Linked DNA regions of Homo sapiens: regions 1 and 3 are each linked to region 2. The links are contacts of gene promoters, found by promoter capture Hi-C in blood cells and fetal thymus (Javierre and others, 2016). All regions are on one chromosome and are shown on one strand. The core of a region is centred on a gene start or on the middle of the fragment in contact, and the rest is flanking DNA. Distances in the headings are between cores, read along the strand shown. Region 1 overlaps SLC44A5 (solute carrier family 44 member 5). Region 2 holds the start of RABGGTB (Rab geranylgeranyltransferase subunit beta). Region 3 overlaps ST6GALNAC3 (ST6 N-acetylgalactosaminide alpha-2,6-sialyltransferase 3).

Region 1 (3,683 bases), core at 780-3,279, 530 kb before region 2:
GAGGGAACTTTAAAACCTCTAATATATTCAGAGAAATTTAAGCAGATTATTCACAAAATAAAAATGTGATGTTATTGTAAAAGAATAATTGGAGAACAAGAAAGGCTTATAAAGATTAAAATATAATTGCCAAAACAAAAAAAAATCAAAAGAAGAGATGGAAAAAATTAAGAAATTCTAAAATACAGAACAAAAAGTCAGAGATGAAAAATAGAAGGAAAAAAAGGAGAGGCACTGAGACGAATCCAGGTATGACCAATAGTTCCAGAAAGACAACTGAAAAAATGGAAGGGATAAAAATCGCAAAGAAATAACAGAAGAAAATTGTCCAGAGCTGATGAGAGTCATAGTTCTTCAGGATTAAAGGACTTACTAAGGACTCAAAGAAAGAATTAAACAGGCCTCTATCAAATTGTGAGATTTCAGAACACTAAGAATAAAGAAATGATTTTAAGTACTTTCTAAAAGGAAAATACTTATCATGATGTATGTGAATTCTACTGGCATTAGACATTCTGGATAACAAAAATGATGGAGCAATGTCTTCACATTTCTGAAAAGAATTGTTTTTCAATCTACACTTCTATAGCTATACCATCAATCAAATATAAAAAGAGAAAAGAAAAGATGAAGAGACAAAGAAGACATTTATAGGAACTCAGCAAGTTTACTTCTTATGCTTTCTTTTTTTAGGAAGGTAATTGAGAATATTCTCCATGAAAACAGGTGGGTCAACAGAAAGAGAGGCAGCCTTGGGATATAGGAAACAATAAATTCACATACTTACGCTAAAAATTATTATTTATATGAAATTAAAAAGTTAACTGGGCATTCTGTGCTTTTGTTTCATAAATCTGTTAACTCTAGAAAAAGACAATTTAACAAGGTAGAGAAGCCCCAGAATTAAAGCTATGCAATAGGCCTACAATTTACCAGGTCCTGAGTAAAGCAAAAGGACAGCAGCTCTGCAAGGTAGACCTTCAGGGAAAAGGGGCCCCTGAAAAATAGTATGATTGAGATGGCAGAAAAGCACATTGTTCTGATGAAGGCTATCCAAGAAAAACCTTGTGGGTAAACAAAACATTATGTTAGAAAGTCACTATGTTGAAGCAAACTAAAATGTGAGATGATCCTATGCTGCTAATGAAGTGTGAGATTTGGCTTTGATATCAAGGACATGGTACAAATAAGAAAGTAATGGCCTGACAGTGAATACAGTTTGTAGAGTTATGACAAAGCAGAAGTTTTTAAAATCATTTTCAAATTCTGGAACCAACCTACCAATACATCATGCAAGATTCTGTTGAAGTTCCAGAACTGAACATAAATGGTGACAAATCTGATCATGTAAAATGGTATTTATAGAAAGTATTTCCAGAAAGTAAAAGGTGAAAGGGAACGAAAAGATGGACAGAAGGGTAGGGGTGATAATATCCTCTTACATAAAGATGAGCTGAGACACTGACAAAAGTTAGCAGAACAAGAAGTAGAGGTATTGCATACTATTTAAAGTCATAAAAGTAACCACAAGGCAATCCAAAAGTAGTAATTTAACTACCAAACATGGGTGAAGGGGATCAGTAAGATAATGTATATGAGTTAGAAATATTCATTTCCCATAGCAGACTGTCAGTGGATATTATCTAAACTTAATAAGCACAAAATAAAATAAGCTTATTATTTAAAGTTCTGTAAAAACCAACTGCCAGAAGAACTAAAACCAGAGAGAGAAGAGATTGTCCCAGTGAAAGGAAAGTGTGGGTGAAAAGTCCTAGAATGAGAGACCATTGCTTTTATTATAAACTCTTCATTACTATTTTGTTTGTTTTCACATGCATATATTATTTTGATTCAAATTTTAAACATTAAACAAATTGTGTGTGGATACTGGTAGTAAGTTCAATCAAAGAGATTTGTGAGATATTTTTGCCATTTTGTCAGAGGTCAGTGAATTGAAAACTAAGTTGCTATTGCTTCACATAGATGCTGAATTGGATGCAAGGCTTAAAAGGGAGGGACTTCAAAATGGCTGATGAGAAGCATATAGTACCCACTTGCACTACAAAGAAGAACCAAAATAACAAGTAGATAATCACACTTTGAATAGATCACCTAAGCAAGAATGCCAGAATTCAACAGCCAAAGTGAACAGGAAACAGCTAAGGCATGGAAAAAGAGTGAAGAGAGGCAGCATGCTCAGCCAGGATCAGCTGGGAACCTAGAGAGGCTTTCCGATGCAGGAAAAGGGTGAGAGACCCCTAGTGGTCCACATTCCCAACACAAACTCCTGCAATTCTAGCCATGGGTGAGCCCCTTGACCCACTCAGGCACTGAGACTAACATAGGAAATTGCCTGGAGACTGCATAACAGCATTGCTCCAAAGAGAAAGCTTCTACTGGGTCTCACACCCCTCCCTGAGGTCTAAGAAGAAACAGCAAGGTGGCTGGCAAGATGGCTAAATAGGAACAGCTCTGGTCTGCAGCTCCCAGCGAGAACTACTCAGAAAAAGGGTGATTTCTGCATTTCCAACTGAGGTAACCAGTACATCTCAGTGGGACTAGTTGGACAGTGGGTGTAGCCCAGGGAGGGCGAGCCAAAGCAGGGTGGGTTGTCACCTCACCCAGGAAGCATAAGGGGTCAGGGAACTCCCTCTCCTAGCCTAAGGAAATAGCCATTAGGGACTGTATCATGCACTCTGGCCCAGATTTTGAGCTTTTCCCACGGTCTTCGCAACCCGCAGACCAGAAGATTCACTCCAGGGCCCACTCCACCAGGGCCCTGGGTTTCCAGCACAAAACTGGGTGGCCATTTGGGCAGACACCAAGCTAGTCACAGTTTTTTTTCATACCCCAGTGGCGCCTGGAATGCCAGTGAGACAGAACTGTTCACTCCCCTAGAAAGGGGGCTGAAGCCAGGGAACCAAGTGGTCTGGCTTGGCAGTTCCCACAACCACGGAGACCAGAAAGCTAAGATCCACTGGCTTGAAACTCTCACTTTGAGCACAGCAGTCTGAGCTCGACCTGGGATGCTTGAGCTTCGTCAGGGAAGGGGTGTCTGCCATTGCTGTGGCTTGAGTAGGTGGTTTTACAAAGTCGTTGGGAAGTTGGAACTGGGTGGAGCTCACCACAGCTCAGCAAGGCCACTGCTGCCAGACTGCCTCTCCAGATTTCCTCCTCTCTGGGCAGGGCATCTCTGAAAAAAAGGCAGCAGCCCCAGTCAGGGACTTACAGATAAAACCCCCAACTCCCTGGGACAGAGCACCTGGAGGAAGGGGCGGTCGGGGGTCCAGCTTCAGCAGACTTAAAAGTCCCTGCTGGCAGCTCTGAAGAGAGCAGCAGATCTCCCAGCACAGCGTTTGAGCTCCAATAAGGGACAGACTGCCTTCTCAAGTGGGTCCCTGACCCCTGGGTATCTTGACTGGGAGACACCTCCCAGTAGGCGCCAATAGACACCTCATACAGGAGAGCTCTGGCTGGCATCTGGCAGGTGCCCCTCTGGGACGAAGCTTCCAGAGGAAGGAACAGGCAGCAATCTTGGCCATTCTGCGATTCTGCCAGTGACACCCAGGCAAACAGGGTCTGGAGTGGACCTCCAGTAAACTCCAGCAGACCTGCAGCAGAGGGGCCTTACTGTTAGAAGGAAAGCTAACAAACAGAAAAGAACAGTATCAACAGCAACAAAA
Region 2 (3,317 bases), core at 30-2,529:
ATTATGGCAGTGAAAGAAATCAGACCTAACGGATTCCATCTTGCTTCTAACTTTTGTTTTTGAGACTAGTCTCGCTCTGTCGCCCAGGGTGGAGTGCAGTGGCGTGATCTCTGCTCACTGCAAGCTCCGCCTCCCGGGTTTAAGCCATTCTCCTGCCTCAACCTCAGGAGTAGATGGGACTACAGGCGCCCACCCCCACGCCCGGCTAATTTTTTGTATTTGTAGTAGAGACGGGGTTTTAGCCAGGATGGTCTCGATCCCCTGACCTCGTGATCCGCCCGCCTTGGCCTCCCAAAGTGCTGGGATTACAGGCGTGAGCCACCGGCCGCTTCTAACTTTTAAGCTGTCCTTCTTCATTCCTGAGCCTAGGCTGAACCAATTTAGGGAGGAATTCAGTTTATGGTTTGACTCTGAAACAAAATTGATAATATCCCTTTCCCAAAAAGACCGCTTTTTTGCCTGGGGACCAGTCTGCCTTTGCAGAACCAACAGATTAGCTACAAGATTAGAAATTACAGTTTAGAGGTCATGCAGCCTCTGGCTCCAAGTTTCTGAACCTCCCCAAATTGCTCCTGGGGATAACATCACTATTGTAAAACCTAAGATAAGTTCTTGAGATATTTTGCAGACCCTGCTCTCCATGGATCAGTTGAAACCACCCAGATTGGTAATTTGGCTCAACCAGTTCTGCCATCCTACCCAGGAACAGAAAACAGCAAGAAAAACTCACGTCTACCCACTATGAGTCCATCTCCAACCTGACCCATCAGCACTCCCTACTTCCCAAGCCCCTAATCGCCGAATTATCTTTAAAAACTCTGAATACTGCTTGGGGAGACTCCATTGCAAGTCCCCTGTCTTGATAAATGGGCTATCGGTCAGCAGCAGGCAAAGTGAACCACAATATTGGGTGGTTACACTCCTAGGATCAAGCAATCCTGCTGTCCGGCTTCCCAAAGTGCTGGGATTACAGGCGTAAGCCACCGCGTCCAGCTAGAACAAATGATTTCTTAAAAGCAACTCAGATATTTAAATATTATTTAAAACTGTTTCTAGACAAATCGGAGTGACTATGGGACAAGCATATGGTCGCAGGACTTTGGACGCAGGCAGTGAGGACACCTATGAGCGATCAGTGGGGTCCTACGGCAGCCGTGGAACTGCTCTGCCTTGCAGGCGAAAGTGTGGTCAGCTATATCGGAGCGCGATGGGGGCCTGAGAGGCGCATCTGCGCAGGCGCCCGGCTCCTAAGTCTACCCAGGAACTGACCCTGCTCTCTCCTTTCCCTGTTAGACATGGTAAGTGTGAGTTTAGCGCTGCTGTCCGGATGGGTTGGTAGCAGACAGGGTGGAGTAGGGTTAAGCACACTGGTCACCTTAGGATTGGTTTCCTGGTGCTGGAGAATGGTTAGGACACAGGCCTTGGAAGGTTTTTTGAGTGTGAAATATTACTCAGCGTTTTCTGCAGACCTCGCGGGCAATGCCGCTTCTAATTTTATCCAGGCCTTCTTCTGTAGGGAGGGCCTGTTAAGAGTTGAGCAGCCCGATTTCTGAACCCCTCTAAAAAGCTGTGGCTGATTGGTGGCTTTTTTTTTTCTTGGAGAGGGGGTGTCAAAGATTTCTTTAAAATCGTTAGTGATGTGGTCTCGCTTTAAGATTTTTAATGGGATCAGAAGAAAATTCGGTACTTAATCACTTCCGGTAATCTTCATGACCTGTTATAGTGACTGCAGTGTACTCTCAATGAGGAAGATATAGATACGAAAAGAACTAGAGCCGCATCACATGGGGACTTCTGCAAATACAGAGACTCGGATTAAAGGTGGAGAAGATGGAGCTAAAGGAACTGCTTATTTAATACATTTGAACAACTTTTGGGGTACTTAGAAGGTGCTTTGAAACCTGCATTTGATTAAGCAAGAATTCGCTTGCAAGTTAAGGGTTAGATTTTTTTATTTTTTAAAAATATGCTTTCTGCCACATGTAAACCGTAAGTTGTCCTGAAATGATAAGCTTTGATATTCTATGGTGTTTATTTTTTACTTATCTTTTTGAATGAAAAGTGAACAACAAGAAATGCTGGTGGTAATTTTTTGGGTCAATGATGAGTTGGCATGTATTCTGAATCTAAAGTTGATTATTACTACTTTAGCTCTAGAATTACTCTGAGACCTGAAAATTACCTGAATCGTGACTAAGACGAAGCCTGAATGATTTAAGTTCTTTTTTGTTGGATACAATTTGTTGTTGTTGTTGTTGTTTTGGTTTTGTTTTTGAGTCGGTCTCCGGTCGCCCAGGATGGAGTGCAGTGACACAACCTCAGTTCACTGCAGCCTTAATTTCCCTGGCTCAAGCGATCTTCTACCTCAGCCTCCCTAGTTAGTTACAATTTTTAAATGGAACGTTTTCCTATTACAAGATGAAATCAAGTGAAAATTGAGATGTATGTTGAATCTATGCTGTGGGGCAGAAGAACGTTGTAGAGGTAAACATTGATGAGATTACCACTTTATTTTGAAAGGGCACTCCACAGAAGGATGTTATTATCAAGTCAGATGCACCGGACACTTTGTTATTGGAGAAACATGCAGATTATATCGCATCCTATGGCTCAAAGAAAGATGATTATGTATGTATAATTTTTTTATGTTGGAAAGTTTATTTTAAAGAAGTGTGACAGTCATAAGCAGTGAGACAGTATTTATGTCTTAAAATGGCATCCAACTCCATGCAGAGAACTGAGGATGTGCTGTGCCTTTGAACTTCAGTTAAGTGTGCTTTGGACGTCTGAGGCTGTGGGCTTATTAGAATCTCAGTTTTTACCTATACTGAGAGGGCTTGCCAGACAAAGTAGATGAGGGTTTGAGGTACAAAACGGGTTTCTCTTTTTGTAGTTAGGGGTAATACTTTCAAGGTCAATGATGTGTTGGCATGTATTATCTGAATCTATTGCTGATGTGTAATAACACTTTAGCTCTAGAATTACTCTGAGACCTTGAAAAAGTTTTACCTTAAATTTTTAAATTTCGAGGAAAACTCTGGGACAATCTTAGCAAAAAGTAGTAAACAACTTAGTTAAGAGTAAATGTTTTTCCCTGTAGTATCCAAACTCAGTTGTCTTAGTCTACCGATTTGTGGGATATATGGTATGTATTAATTTTTTACTTAAGTGTTAGGTTCCCATAACCTTGAAAATACTCTATTAGCAATCATGGAGTTAAGGCCATATGGATGGGGCTGGACTCGTTTCTGCCTTTATCTGCTATCTATCTTTATGCCCTGAATTTGGGTTAGTAGCAAACTAAGATGCACCACCTG
Region 3 (3,322 bases), core at 764-3,263, 520 kb after region 2:
AAACGAAAGTACACTCCACAGGGTGGGAGTGGCCAGAGCATAAGGGGCTCAAGGGCCTGGATGCAGAATCTTCTCAGGTCCAAATACCCCCTAGAGGTTTCCCATTAGCCTGATGTAAATGAAGTGGTGTTCACCTCATGTAAATGAAGTGGTGGTCTGCAACCAGTCCGATTGGTTGCAGAAAGCAACCAATCAGAGGCTGAGTTACAAAGGTCACAGTCCTATGCAAGTTTTCTGCAACCAATCAGAGGCTAAAGTGATGTTACAAAGTTACATTTCTATGCAAACGAAGACTTGGCCCACAATCAGTCTGATTGGTTGCAGACAGCAGTTAATCAGAGGCTGAAGTGAAGTTTCATAGGTCACACTCCCATGCAAGCATCTGATTGGTTGCAAAAAGCAACCAATCAGAGATACTTTCCATTTTCAATCTGCCACCTAGAAAAAGTGGGGTTTTGCAAAGGGAGTGGTCTCTGGTCCTTTTGTTACCTAGCCAGTGGAAAGTTAGGGTTTTTCTTTCAATTTAGTCCTAGGAAGTCAGCGTGAAACGGCCTTAGGTTCCCTGCCTCCAGACCCTATTCTCTTGCCTCATTAGTGTAACTTGACCACCTGAGTCTACCGGTACACCCCTGGTGAGAATCCACTTTTAGCTTTGTAAAGTACTTGGCATAATGCCTGATACTTGCTGAGTACATAGTGAGCTGTTGCAAGTCCCTTCCACTAAAAAATAAGCTATTGTCCTTATCAGAAGAATAGGATACTCTTTTGTTATCTATTTCTCATTCCATGATATAGGATTCTAGCTTTAAGTGTTGTCAATCTCAGACAAGAGTTGATTATCTAAAAAATATGGATTCTTGTAAGCCTTTTCATTATGTGCCATATAAAAAATGTTGCTCCAAGCAGGTTTACTAGTTTATCACCATTCAGATTTACAAGTTCTATCAGGAACTTCAAAGCAATTTCCTAGTAAATTTCCTAGTAAAAAGTCCAGTTTAACAAATGTTTAAATTTTTCTCACTTCTCTTTATATTTTAAATTTTTCTCACTTCTCTTTATATTTCACACCCTAACCCTCTCCCTCACTTTCCCATTCCCCACCACATTCACCTCAAATCTACACAGAAATCTTAAAGTGAGATGAATTAAGAAAAAAAAAGAAAATTGCCTTTTTTCTTTTATGAAAAAACATATTTTTATAATAATCTGAATCTGAAATTTTTGAAATAATTTAGGACTTATATTTAGAAAAAATCATTTAATCCCTCTGTCCTTCCTTCTTTCTCTCCTTCATTCTTTCATTTCTTCCACAAATATTTACTGAATATTTTCTGTTAAAGACATTGTGCTTGATACTGCCTTATGAGATATATTTCTCAGATTTTGTTCATGTCCTGAAGAAATTTTCAAAGACAAAATTAAGGGGGAATCTTTCTCTCCTTCCCTCCCTTCCTTTCTCCCTCCACTCTCCCTCTTCCCTCTTTCCTCCATCTTCTTTCTCCATCCACCCCATCCCACCCCACCCTTATCCATGAACTAGAAGCCAAGGAGGAACAAATGCTTTATGGGGGAAACACTCTGAGCAAGTTATATTGGAACTTGCAGAGATGAGGATGGTAGAATACAGCAAGGGGGCCAGGAGGAGCAGCATGAACAAGGTCACAGTAACTGGATAGCAAAGGGGCTTTAGAGAAGGCTGAGAAGTCCAGCTTGAAACATGGAGGACAGGAAAGGGAGAGATGGGAGAGGAGACTTCCCTTCTCACTTCACTTGTTACAGAGAGATGCATGTGAGGTGTGAGGATAAATGCCATTTAATGTAAGGTCATGTAGATTCACAGAAAAATAAGAGATTCCAGCTGATGTCATTATCATCGTAGTCATTTTCATCATTGTCGGGATGCCTCTGGCAGGACTTCCTCCCTAATGACACCAGGACCACCAGAATTTACACTTATGCTCTGCTTCTGTGTCCTGAACACCTTGGAGGTACGAATGGATTCTAAGAGACAAACTCATCTCGTTTAGAGTGAAAAGATGACAAGCAGAGGTTCGCAGAAGCCACATACAACCAATGAAGCCTATAAGGTAGCTGAGAATTAAACAAAAGCACCTGTTCCGATTACCTTCATTGTTCCTGGTTAGTTAGCACCTCCCTTTCCTCAACAGAATGCCCGGCGCACAGGGGTGGGATCTGAGTGAGGGCAACAGGTGGATTGGAGAACATTTCTTCCCATAAGTAGTAGGATTTGATGGAAAAACAAGTAACTTCAGGGTAATAAAATGATGGAAAGTCCTGATGGGTCAGGTCCATATCTAATCTTAAGAAGGGCAGCCTTAGGCAGCATAGTGGGTGCTAGAATCATTGGTACCATCAAGAAAAGAGTAGTAATGTGAATTTCAAAGAAGATCACTTTGGGATAATGAACAGCATGACAGAATCCGGGAGCCTAATGAAGAAGATGTGATATAGTAAAAGAAATATATTGAGTGTAGGCTTTGAATAGGGCAGAAGGAGTGGAACTAGAGAGGCAAGAGGAGATGTGATTATGGAAGGTCTTGTATATCATACCAAGGGTCTGCACTTACACTGTAGAGTCCAGAGGGATCTAAATGTAGGATAGACAGGATCAGGTTTGATTTTGGAAAGCTCAGTCTGGAGGTGGTGTGGCCAATGTTTGGGAAGTGGTAAAGACTCTTTCGGGAAAGACAATATCAAGAGCAAACATGGACTACTTCATCAGGTATCACCAGCAGATATTAAATTATCAGTACAAAACCCAGCAATTATTACTTTCAGATCGGCCTTTTTTCTCTTACTAGGAGAATATAGTCCAGATAGAGTGTACGTGCATGAATAATCATCATAGTCTTAACAGAGGATGAAGTTTAATGAGTGTTATCAGTTAGAGAATTATTTATATAATCTCAGTTTTCCAGACAAAGAAATAGAGGCATAGTGAGATGAAGTGACTGCCCAAAGTCATAGATGGAGAAAATGGTAAAGATGACTTGAACTCTGATATTCTGCCTCTAGAGCCTGTGTTCTAGTGTGTGAATTAACTAAGTTGTTAATTGTTATTCATACTAATGGGAACATTCTCATATAACTGGTTCAGAAATTTTAAAAACTGGTACCAGCCTTAGGTAGATTTTGTAATGCAGTTTGTCAGTAACCAAAATACCTAATTCATATGGAAAATTAAGAGGCTGGTGTGAAGCATGATAATTACATTTACTTTGAAATCAGCAATTTGTGGATAAATTTAATTCATTTTGCCCAACTCTGGCTTTATTCCCGGTATTAAAAAGACAACTACAGG

What was found. Contacts are between HindIII fragments. The CHiCAGO score rates a contact against its expected background, and 5 or more counts as called.
Region 1: a fragment that was not itself captured here is called in contact with the fragment with the promoter of RABGGTB in region 2 in 2 of 17 cell types (M0 macrophages and M2 macrophages); the score reaches 5.8 in M0 macrophages.
Region 3: a contact is called between a fragment that was not itself captured here and the fragment with the promoter of RABGGTB in region 2, in 1 of 17 cell types (non-activated CD4 T cells). The highest score is 5.1, in non-activated CD4 T cells.

The regions. Positions count from the first base shown.
Region 1 is chr1:75,255,310-75,258,992 of GRCh38, forward strand. All of the region lies in intron 6 of SLC44A5 (solute carrier family 44 member 5), which reads right to left. Among named protein-coding and RNA genes, the nearest start is that of LHX8, 120 kb to the left of the region's middle. The HindIII fragment of the contact is 717 bases long and covers 1,672-2,388 here.
Region 2 is chr1:75,784,977-75,788,293 of GRCh38, forward strand. RABGGTB (Rab geranylgeranyltransferase subunit beta) reads left to right here and starts at 1,280. Exons shown (of 9, transcript NM_004582.4): 1 at 1,280-1,298; 2 at 2,521-2,628. The coding sequence starts at 1,296. It overlaps SNORD45C (small nucleolar RNA, C/D box 45C), which reads left to right and starts at 2,096; the gene lies at 2,096-2,173. SNORD45A (small nucleolar RNA, C/D box 45A) reads left to right here and starts at 2,913; the gene lies at 2,913-2,996. RefSeq lists enhancers at 1-81, 1,022-1,251 and a silencer at 1,312-1,371. The HindIII fragment of the contact is 7,492 bases long and covers 1-2,010 here.
Region 3 is chr1:76,302,880-76,306,201 of GRCh38, forward strand. The region is part of intron 1 of ST6GALNAC3 (ST6 N-acetylgalactosaminide alpha-2,6-sialyltransferase 3); the gene reads left to right. Among named protein-coding and RNA genes, the nearest start is that of ST6GALNAC3, 230 kb to the left of the region's middle. RefSeq lists an enhancer at 265-904. The HindIII fragment of the contact is 4,943 bases long and covers 1-3,322 here.